Linked DNA regions of Homo sapiens: all the other regions are linked to region 1. The links are contacts of gene promoters, found by promoter capture Hi-C in blood cells and fetal thymus (Javierre and others, 2016). All regions are on one chromosome and are shown on one strand. Each heading gives the region's core, a stretch centred on a gene start or on the middle of the fragment in contact. The rest is flanking DNA. Distances are from core to core; before and after follow the strand shown.

What was found. The method cuts DNA at HindIII sites, captures the fragments that hold promoters and counts their contacts. A CHiCAGO score of 5 or more calls a contact.
Region 2: a contact is called between a fragment that was not itself captured here and the fragment with the promoter of EFNB2 in region 1, in 1 of 17 cell types (total CD4 T cells). The highest score is 7.2, in total CD4 T cells.
Region 3: a contact is called between a fragment that was not itself captured here and the fragment with the promoter of EFNB2 in region 1, in 1 of 17 cell types (total B cells). The highest score is 8.1, in total B cells.

The regions. Positions count from the first base shown.
Region 1 is chr13:106,534,182-106,537,440 of GRCh38, forward strand. EFNB2 (ephrin B2) reads right to left here and starts at 1,481. Exons shown (of 5, transcript NM_004093.4): 1 at 662-1,481. The coding sequence starts at 783. RefSeq lists a silencer at 1,269-1,928 and an enhancer at 2,509-2,578. The HindIII fragment of the contact is 2,990 bases long and covers 1-2,898 here.
Region 2 is chr13:101,142,040-101,145,747 of GRCh38, forward strand. NALCN (sodium leak channel, non-selective) reads right to left here. Exons shown (of 44, transcript NM_052867.4): 16 at 2,721-2,857; 17 at 1,041-1,182. Among named protein-coding and RNA genes, the nearest start is that of LINC00411, 200 kb to the left of the region's middle. The HindIII fragment of the contact is 1,909 bases long and covers 842-2,750 here.
Region 3 is chr13:99,956,567-99,960,283 of GRCh38, forward strand. It overlaps CLYBL-AS3 (CLYBL antisense RNA 3), which reads right to left and starts at 599. Exons shown (of 5, transcript NR_120421.1): 1 at 517-599. RefSeq lists enhancers at 1-654, 655-1,629. The HindIII fragment of the contact is 359 bases long and covers 1,688-2,046 here.

The sequences.
Region 1 (3,259 bases), core at 231-2,730:
GCGGCGGGCCCTCAGGGAGAAGCCTAAGGCCCGTCTCCCCGGCGCGGAGGAAAGGGCTCGACGCCCGAGTTCTCCTGCGAAGCAGGCGAGCTCCCCGCGCACCCTCGGGCTGGCGGCGCGGTGCCAAGGCGCCCCGGCTCCAGGGCTCTGCGGGCAGCGTAGCGACTCCAGGCTCCCCTCTCCAGAACGCGCTTCGCTGCCAGCGTCCTGCCACCCCGGTCGCCCGCCCGCGGGCCCCGGACCACGCCGCCCGCGCTCCCCGCGAATGCAGCATCTCCGCCTCTCTCCAGAGCCCACCAGTCCCCGCGTGCCGGCCAGCCTAGATTGTGGCCATGTCCTTCGTCCTCGAAAACAGGAGAGGGTCAGGTATCGCCATCGGACACCTTCCCGGACTTGACACCCGAGCCGATAGTAGCTTTTAGCGCCTGGGAGCGTTCGGGGGAGGAAAGGCGGAGAGACCGTCCGTTCCAGCGGGGCTCGGGTTGGAAAGCCGAGCGAGGAGTCTCCACCTAGTGAAATGGGGCGGGGGTTGGGGGTGGGGGACGGGGAACCGAGGTTCCAGAAACAGGCTCCGAGGCCCCGCGGACTGACCCCTCCTCCCGCCCGGACGGCGCGGCGGACCCCGGGGCGGGGACATAGGGGGATCGCGGACGCCACTTACTTGGAGTTCGAGGAATTCCAATAGATAGGCTCTAAAACTATCGATTTGGAAATCGCAGTTCTGCATAAAACCATCAAAACACCCCAGCAGTACTTCCACACGGAGTCCCTTCTCACAGCCATGGCGAAGCCACTCCCAGCTCCGCGCACTCCGGGCCAAGAAGGGACTGACGGGACGCAGGCTGGGACCCCCAATCCTCCGGGGCAGACTGGCGGGGAAGACGGCGTGCGCCCGCAGGCAGCTCCGAGGCGCGCTGCGCAGCTCCAGCGGTCGCCGGGCCAGGTGCGCTCGCTCTCCGGGGCCCTCAGGGCGCGGGGCGGGAGCGCACGCGCGGGGCGCGGCGGCGCGGCGGACTCGGGGTTCCGGGGCGCCGCGCCGGACGCAGCTCGGACGGCCGACTCCCGTGCGGCTCCAGGGTGCCGGGCCGGCCGCGGCTGGCGGGTGGGCGCGGGGCGGGTGCGGGCTGGGACACAAAGACCCGGAGCGGAGACGACCGGCGCGGGCGGCGGGCGCTGCGCCCCGAGCGGGGCCGCCTGTGACTATAGATCCAGTGCAGCGGGCAGCGGCCCGAGCGCGCGGGCGCCGCGTCGGCGCGGTTCCATGTCCCGGAGCACGGAGCGGAGTAGGGCGCCTCCGGGCGCGCAGGAGCCTTCTCAGTCCGCGCGGCTCCCGGCCCCCAGGGCAGGAAAGAGGGAGCTCGGTCCCCGCCGCGGGCTCCGGACGCGCGCGGGCCTTTGTGTGCGGGGAGGGCGCCGGGACCCGCTGCGTGCGCAGCTCCTCGCTCCGGCCGGCGCCGCGGTCCCCGCCGAGGAGAGTCAGCGCGGCCGCCGCGCTGTCAGAGCGCTATAAACGCGGGGCCCCGCCCCGCCGCGCGAAGCCCATTGGCCCGCGGCTCCGCGGCCGCGCGCTGGTTGGACGGCCGGTCCGTCCGTCCGCCATCCCCTCCCGACATTGGGTGCCGCGAGGCGGGGCTCGGGCTGACAGGTGAGCCCCGCCCCTGGCTCCCGCGGGCGGCGGGAGCGGAGCAGAAGCCGGGCAGGAGAAGCGCTCAGCGCGTGCACAGGGCGCCCCCGGGGCGGCGAGAGGCCTTCTGGGCGCGGTGCAGACGTGGAAACAGCGACGGCCGAGTAGCGGGCCACCTGTCTCCGCGCCCGGGGGCGCCTTCCCCCTCGGCGGAATCAGAGGGCGCGGCTTTCCCTCGAGCAGTGCGGAAGGCAGCAGGCTCCGCTCGGCGTCCCTTCTCCGCAGATGCGGCGCTGCCCCGCGTGCAAGACTTGCACTCCGCGCGCACCCTTAGAGCTCCCGGCTTCTGCGCGCTTCTCCCGACGCCTCTCGGCGAGGGCTTCTCACTTGATTTTGGTACCAATCGCCTACGGCTCAGTTTCAGTCAGTGGGGCCGGGAATTGCAAGACGATTCCTGCGACGCGGCGCCGGAATTTGCAGCTCTAATCAGGGCCTGAGCATCGTCGCCTCCCGCCTTCTCTGCGGGCGTCTCCCTTCCCTCCTGGCCCCCCGGGAAGGTGGCGCCCCTGGAGCTTTCCCCGCGTGTCGCCGGCACAGGCACGACGCGGGGACCGTCTCACTAGCCTCTAGGAGACACGCGCGCTTCCCAAAGTGACCAGAGATTTAGAGGGTGTGAGATGGAAAAGTCAAGGCATGTGCTTCTCACTCGGCGTCTGCAAGACCCCAGAGCAGAGCTGGCAGGAACTCCTCGCTACTTTCCCGGTCGAGCGCCGGTGCTGACGCTCGTCCGTGACTTCCACGGAGCCACAGCGCCCACTAGCGGCCAGCTTTGCTTCTCCGCATCTCGAGCGCTCTGCGGTCCACCGACCCGGATCCAGCATACTGCAGCATCTAATCAAGTCACAGTTCCAAGGAAAATCTTTTTATATGTCCAACAGTAGGAAGAACACGGTAGAAATAAGGCACAGTGCAAATGTACGATTCAGTATGAAAAATTAAAATATACTGTATGCCCACGTTTTTTTTCAATTTAATGCCGTCCACCCCAGGATTTATGTTTCAAACACAAACTGGGCAGTAATTCTACAAATTATGTATTTTTAAAACAAAGTATCCACTACGCTAAATTTAAAAATGCATATGGTAAAACACCTTGTTTTCTTTCACTCTTCTTTGTAACAATTTCTGAAGATTTTTATGGTACGTTGCTTTTAAGTATCCGTTTTTGAAACATTAGTCTAACTTAACGTATACATCTCAGTTGGAGTGGTAAAAGCTTGTGAAGACTAGTTTAAGATAGAAAACACATTAAGGCATACAAAGTACTGAATACACTTACTCTTCCAAACAGATCTTTGAGAGCAGAAAAGTTTCATAATTTATTTTCATTTTAAATAAGCCTTCAAACTAAATATATATATACACACATATACGTATACACACATATACACATATTTATACATATATACACATATGTACGTATATATATACACACACATATATACGTATATATATACACATATATATATGCACACACACACATATATATATAAAATTTATTTTAAAAAGGCTCCACCACGGTATGACGATTTGAACAGCGGATTCCCAGGAAGCACCAACAACCCAGGAAGCAGC
Region 2 (3,708 bases), core at 546-3,045, 5.4 Mb before region 1:
ATACTATGCATACATATATACACACATATACATTTATATGTCTATGTGTGTATATATAAATATGTTTACTTATTATACCTAGATAATACATTCTATGTCTTTTTTTTTTTTTTTTTTTTTGAGATGGAGTCTCACTCTGTTGCCCAGGCTGGAGTACAGTGGCACAATCTCAGCTCACTGCAACCTCTGCCTCCTAGGTTCGAGTGATTCTCCTGCCTCAGCCTCCCGAGTAGCTGGGATTACAGGCATCCACCACCACGCCCAGCTGACTTTTGTATTTTTAGTAGAGATGGGGTTACACCATGTTGGCCAAGCTGGTCTCGAACTTCTGACCTCAAGTGATCCACCCGCCTCGGCCTCCCAAAGTGCTGGGATTACAGGGGTGAGCCATGGCACACAGCCCTTATATTATTTTTTTTAAAAGTGAATAAATGAAAAAGTACATTTCTTTAAAATTATTACCTAAATTTGCTTTATTTATATGTGGTTCCCTACTGATACTTTGCTGTGGAATCTGAAAAAAATTTTCCCTTCTACTTTTCAAATGATAAAGAAATAGGTAAACTAGAACATGAATAAGCTCTTGCACCTAAGTTCCTGCCACATACTAAGCATTGAATAAATGGCAATTCTTTCGACCGATTTTAGAGAAACATGCTCTCGTATCCTCTCTGATGTAATAAGTAGACATAAGCAGTTGTACTTGCAGGAGATGGCAGGTCATTACACCTGGACTGAGCCTTGGAGATCCCAGCCCTTTATTCCGCACCTGAGAAAATGCAGATTTGGGAGGCTCTTGATGTTTACAAAGTCGCATGGCTGCCACGTGGCGCAGCTCAAAAGCTTACACGGGCAAATGCAAAATTTCAATGCATAGAGTAAAAAATGTTAGGTTTCATGATATCTTTTACAAATGAAATCATTTTATTTTCATTATTCTCTTGAGAAATTGGATTCCAGGACCCTAAAGAACTCTGCGGTTCTTTTCTCAAACATAGATGCTTTTTAGAAGCCTGGTTATTCGAAACAGCAGATCTTACTTTTTGGTCGATGTATTTGTTGTCCTCAATTGCTGAGCGTTTGGAGTGGTCGCAGGAGGAGGAAGAGGTGGTCGGGAGGCTTCTCAGGAGGCAACATGTGTCCTGTTGCTGGCGGTCAATAAACTGCTTCATAAAACTCTCCCTTTGCAAATGAAGTATATGTGCATCAGGCATTATTAGTGGAAGGGAGCAAGTGACAGCATTTTGCAATGATGAGTTTGCTTGAGCAAAGATAAAGCAGTGATAAAAGATCATAGAAAACTAGATCATGACTAAAATATTTCATTAGCAACAGCTTCCTGAAACTCAGTGACTCCTGCTTAAAAAGCAATATCCTTGAAATAACTTTCAAGCAATATTACTCAGTAACCGATGGTAGTTTTTTGAATCTTTTTTTTTTTTGAGACGGAGTTTCACTCTTGTTGCCCAGGCTGGAGTGCAATGGTGCAATCTCAGCTCACCACAACCTCCGCCTCCCGAGTTTAAGCAATTCTCCTGCCTCAGCCTCCAGAGTAGCTGGGATTACAGGCATGCGCCACCACGCCCAGCTAATTTTGTATTTTTACTAGAGATGGGATTTCTCCATGTTGGTCAGGCTGGTCTCGAACTCCCGACCTCAGGTGATCTGCCCGGTTCGGCCTCCCAAAGTGCTGGGATTACAGGTGTGAGCCACCGCACCCAGCCCAGTTTTTTGAATCTTATTGTGGTAATAAAACACTTTTTTTCCCCCTCTAAGACTTGGAAGAATTAGTTGCTCTCTCTAAATGTCCATTTATCATAAGAATGACTAAGAGAGAATTTTACATTTTAAGACTCAAAAGCAAGTGCGTTCATCTGATCTTCAAAGCATAACGAAAATTCAAGTAACGTCTCTTCAAATTACCAAATTCAATTAATTTTGTTTTTTAAAATTAGAAATGCAAATATATTTCTACCCGAATTTTAAATATTATGGCACCATATATAGTCTCATACTTTTATAACCCCCCACAGAATTATTTTTAAAGCTAGTAACATATTACTGTAATTCTGTTTGTAATTTCTTGAGCTATAACTAGAAGAATTTCCTTTTATTATTAAAAATAGGTGTTTAAAGCATCTTTTATGCATTTGCTTAACTGGAGGGCAAACGTGGTAGAAAATCAAATCAGTATGAGTGGAAAAACGCCACGGTTCTTCTTTTAAAAAGTGGAAGGCAAATTATATATGGTAACCTGACATGGTAGGCTCCATAAACACTGTAGTAGTACACAAACTGGGCCAGCTGTGGTTTCCCTGTTTGCTTGAAAATAAAAGGGCCACAGAGGCAATTTTAGTCTCATACGGTTGGGGTCTGAGATTGATGTCTACCTGCCATCCCTGCAACACTGAGCAGCTTCTCCAGTTTCCTGGGATGTCCCATTCCCGAGGAGTCATCCCAGAGAGAAGCGATGGGAAGCAGCCTTCTTGCTTAGGCTACTGCAGTTATAAAGTGACTCTTCTGTGAATACATTGCTTAAAAGAGTCAAAGTTGTTTATTTATTTATTTATTTTAAATAGAGGTAGAGGTAGTAGAAAGATGACAATAAAATAGAAAGAAACCCAACCCACATATACTTAAAAGAAGGGTTAAATCAGATTTAAGATGATGAATCTTTTACAATATATGTGAAATATGCAATTAAAGAAGTATTTTGGTACCTGATTTTAGGAACTGTAAAATCTGAAGGAAGCTTTGAGATTTTCACCATTTGAGGTCTGTTTGGAAATTTTTCAAAGATTCGCAGGCGTAAAGGGAGCTTTTCTTTGGTGTCCGCATTTGCTTCACTTTGCTTTAACTAAAGAAAAATTGGAAAGAAGAAAAAAAGGGGGAACCTATAATACTATTATATACGTTACACAAAATTAGTTTTAGAATGGAAGCAATAAGTAATTACATGAAATGCCAGTAGATGGCAGCAAAGGCCTACCAAGTATACCTCTCTTGCCCGCCATAAATTGCTCTATGAGCTAAAACTTTTGAGTTAACAGAAAAAACAAAAACAAAACTTAACAACAAAAAAACTAAACCAGAAAAAAATTCAAGGAAAACTTTATGTCATTTTATTCCCAAAGACAAGTCTCTTTTCATCTCAGACATTTTTAATGGTTTACTATTACTTGCATATTTAAACAATAAAATTTGTTTACACATGCCTAACGCTAGAATTAAAAATTTTTAAAAACCATGAAAAATTTAAAAAAAATTAACTACAGAATCATACTAAGTAGTAGCATTTGTAAAGAGAGACAATGGCAGGAAAATTGGTTATGTCGCCTAGCAGATTAAAACAGAAAAGCTCAAAACACAAATACCACATTTGGTCCATGCAGCGAGTTTTCCATTTGGCTGCAAACATGCTTGGACACGACGAACTTAAATGCCATATGATATCTTTGTGAGGAATGACAATCAAATGGATTTATTTAAGAGTGTATATTTATATTTCTACAAATTGAGTTTCAGGGAAGCTCAGGTTTAACATCATAAACTGGAACAAGGCTGAACTAAGATACTACAAAGGTGGACTGTGGCTTCCAGAATTCATGCTATACTTTCCTATGCTCTCTTTTTCTCTCCCAGTGCCGACGTCTCTTGGAGTCCCTCTTTACTTCTGTTTACCTCTCCCCTTCTCCAGGACCTTCTGCA
Region 3 (3,717 bases), core at 617-3,116, 6.6 Mb before region 1:
TGCACGCCCAGCGAGGGCCGAGTTCTGGGACGGCTGGGACCAAAGGGCTGGCCTCCGGCCTGCGCCCTGTTTGTTTTCCTTTCGCCCCCTGAATACTAGATTGAGACGTAAAGATTACCCGGGCCGAATAATGCCGGGAGTCAACACTCGAGCAAACAAAAGTGCTTGCACAACTAGTCAACCCCGCTGGGACCCGGGCCGCGGGCTGGGGGAGAGAACGCGCTCCTCGCTGCTAATTACAAATAAATGATGATGTGCTCACTAAGTAATTGATTTAATGAAGTTCCTATGAAACTATTAAACCCGGGTGGAGGTCAGGCTGGAGGCGCCCCAGAGCGCCCATTGTGGGCTGTTTAACTCCACCAGGCTCCTCGGAAAGACATCGGGGCTAATAGGTGAAGTCACAGCTGCTCGCGCTGACTTCTCGGAGCGCCCGGCTGGCCGCGGGCACCCTCGCGCCCTCTTCTTGTAGCGCCCTTGTGCCCCGCCGCCCGCGCCCCGCGCCGGCCAGCTTACCCACGCCACTCCCAGCCCTGTCGCCAGCTCCCGAGGGCCTCTCCAAAGGGATCCCGGGTCTCGTTAAGAGCGGGAAGTTGAGCACTGAACTTGTGCTCACCGCCAGCAGTCGGCGGCGTGCACCGCCGCCCACCCCTCCCTCCTCACTCCACCCCCGCCACTTCGTGCAGGAACTCCAACCAGTGTGCCACGCAGGGTGCTCGCGAGCTCTTGGCAAGGTGCCTGGATCCCGAGCGTGTGCCCAGTGCACTGGCTGGGGCTGGGCTGGGGGGGTTGAATTGCGCGTGAGCGTGTGTGTGGGGGGGGTGGTAGGGAGGTGGGTGTATGCGTACGAGAGAGAGTGCGTTCCGGGCCAAAAGGCCATCTTTCTGCATCCGTTATCCTGGCCTGGGCCCTGTTCATGCAAAAAAGTAGAGGAGGTAGGGACAGCAGAGAAGAGGAATGAGGAAAGATGTGCAAAACAGATCACTCAGGTAGGCGGTTGGGCCTGGGAACTCCAGTCCTAGGCTGTGCGGGAGTGGGCTGCTCTGGCGCGGCCCTCTCTCGCTGCCCCACCGCCCACCTCTGCCCGCGTCCTGACCCGGCCAGGCGTTCCTTGGCCCCAGAGCGACGCCTCCAGCTGCCAATGGGGCGTAGGGCCCCAGGCCCGCATCTCAGGGCTGTCTGAATGCGAGCTCTCCGGCCACCCATTGCGCTCAGATTCCAGTCTCTGCAGGAAGGGTAGGGACTAGTTCTCCTGCAACATGGCTCTTGGTGGAAACATGACCCGCCCCTTATCCAAAAGGCCAGAGGGAGCCCTGAATGGACACATTTTAAGATGGAGAATCAGACATTGCAAATGGATCAAAAGCTAAGGGTGCTAACCACACACACACACACACACACACACACACACACACACACACACACGGGGGTGGGGGTGGGGAGGGCATTTTACTGCATCTCCCCCCACCTACAAGGGGTCGTGTGGTAAAAGAGAAGGCCCACATCCAGGTGAAACGCCACATAGGGAGACGGGGGCGCCTGTTGGGCTTCTGGCTGCAGAAATCAATCTGCCGGGATGCCCTGCCCCCTCTGCCCAGCCAAATCTTGTCTCTCTTCATCAAGAACTGATAGTTAACAGAGTTTCTCAGAGCATGCATTTCATTTATGCCACAGTCAGTTGGCAGTAAGCTTCATTCCTTTTTTTATGTTAGGAATTTTCAACTGCTGAAACCAATTTCCATTTGACTTTGAATCAAACACTTGCAATGGGGGGCAGGGGAAAGGGACATTTTGGCGTGGTTGTTGGCGACTTTAAAGAGAACTCCACTCCCGCCTGGATCTTTGGTCTCAAAGAGGGTCTCAACCTCTGACTTCGGGGAATATTGACAAAAATCAATTTGAGTCTTGCTTGAGGTCTCAGTTTCGCCATCTGTAAAATTGGATCTGGAGATCCTTGGCTGAGGTCCTTTGGGCTTTATTTGTTTGTGATCTGTGAAGGGGACCGTAGGGAGAGGTGGAAGTCAGTCAAGACGCCTGTTTGCACCAAGCTTTTGTCTTTCTTTGTAGAAGCGAGTCCCTTTGTAAAATAACGCCCCGCCAGCCTGCCTAATGGATTTGTGCAGAGCTAGAGTTTTCATTTTCCCCACGCAGGAACGACGAAAGAGAGGGGGTCTTCCAACCCAGCGAGTCCCGCTTGGCCCCGGTTTGCCAGCGGCGCTCTCCAAAATGTGCCAAAAGCTGTGCTTGGGGCACTCTCTCGACCCCGCCCCGGGCAGCTGTTCCCATTTTGTTCCCGCCTTCCCTCCCCTCACCGCAGTCCCTCGTATTCCTTTAACGCCTGCTGCTGACTGCATCCCTGCTGCCCTTAATGTAGGATGGGCACTTCTCTTCAGCCTCCAAATGAGAAGTGACATTTGCACTCGGCTCAGCCAACGCGTGAGCAGAGCGCGGGGGCACAGGCCCATTGACCGAGCGCGGCCGAGGGGCCGGCCGGCTGGGCAGCATCCGAAGCTGCCTTAATTAATACCATCTTAAATAGTCCAGCAGCCACCGAAGACAAAGTTGAAGAAAGACTTTAAGGCTGAGTGCCCCTCGACAAGCTCTTTTTCCCGTGTCATTCAATATTTAATGCGCCCGCTTGTAATGCTACTACTGGTGTTCCTTTCTCAGCAAGGACATTATTTTTTCACGGTGCCCATAGCCAGGGAAAGCCCTTTAGGCAAAGAAAATCAAAATGTTTGTTGTTTTGGATGACTTATAACTCTTGTTTAACACAAGCACTTTCAGGAAAGTATAACAGGCGCAGCCTCCAAAGCAAACAACACAATCCTTGTGACAGAGTCGGACACAAAAAGCACATTGTCTTGCGGACTACCCCTTTTCTCTGGTGCTAGATGGGGGCCTGTCTCCGAATGAACACCACGATGCCATTTCACTTTTGAACTATTGTTTTTGAGTTATGCCATGTGGTCAAAAGGAGCGAGAAGGGGGTTGTTTCCAGGCTCATAAGACAAACGAGTTGCCTTTTCAATGAAATCCCCCCGCGATCCTTGAAAACGGAGTTTAAATGTCACCTCCGCCTTTCTAATGGGCACAGGGCTGGAGGCGACCCTTCAAAGCGCCTCGGTGATGAACGACCCTTATTAAATATGGCCCGAGCTGCTGGGAAAGTCCCGCGCCCGGCCGCGCGCCCTAGAGCGCCCCTCGCCGGTGGGCCCTGGAGGAGCCGGGCCTCCGCTGCCACCGAGCGGAGTCCGGGCCCGCAGAGCCCCAGCCCGGACTGGCGAGGGGGTGCAGAGGGAAGAAGAGGGAAGCCTGGACGAGGGGGGGCGTTGTAATACAACTTCTTATCTGCCGACCCCAACACGCCCGTGCGCCCCCAGCCCCAGAGCCTCGGCGTGAAAGGTTGGTGCGTTTCCCCCCTGACTCTTTTTGTCCGCAGCCGAGTGGCGTCTGCGAGTCTGAGCTGCAAAGTTACTGATTTGCAGGCTGCATGTTAAGGCAGCCCATGTAAGTAATTTCTCTGGGCACCCCAGCAAAGGAGAACAAATCGCTGACAAAGGCGAGCGCTTTCGATTCAGCGGCGTCGTTAAGGCAACCCCAAAGTATTCCTCCTATAATAAGTTCCACTTCAAAGGGTTTCTCATTCAGCGGTGACTGCTTCGCACTTTTATTAAGTCCGGGCTTTTTCACTCGGAGGAATCATCTGTTTGGTTA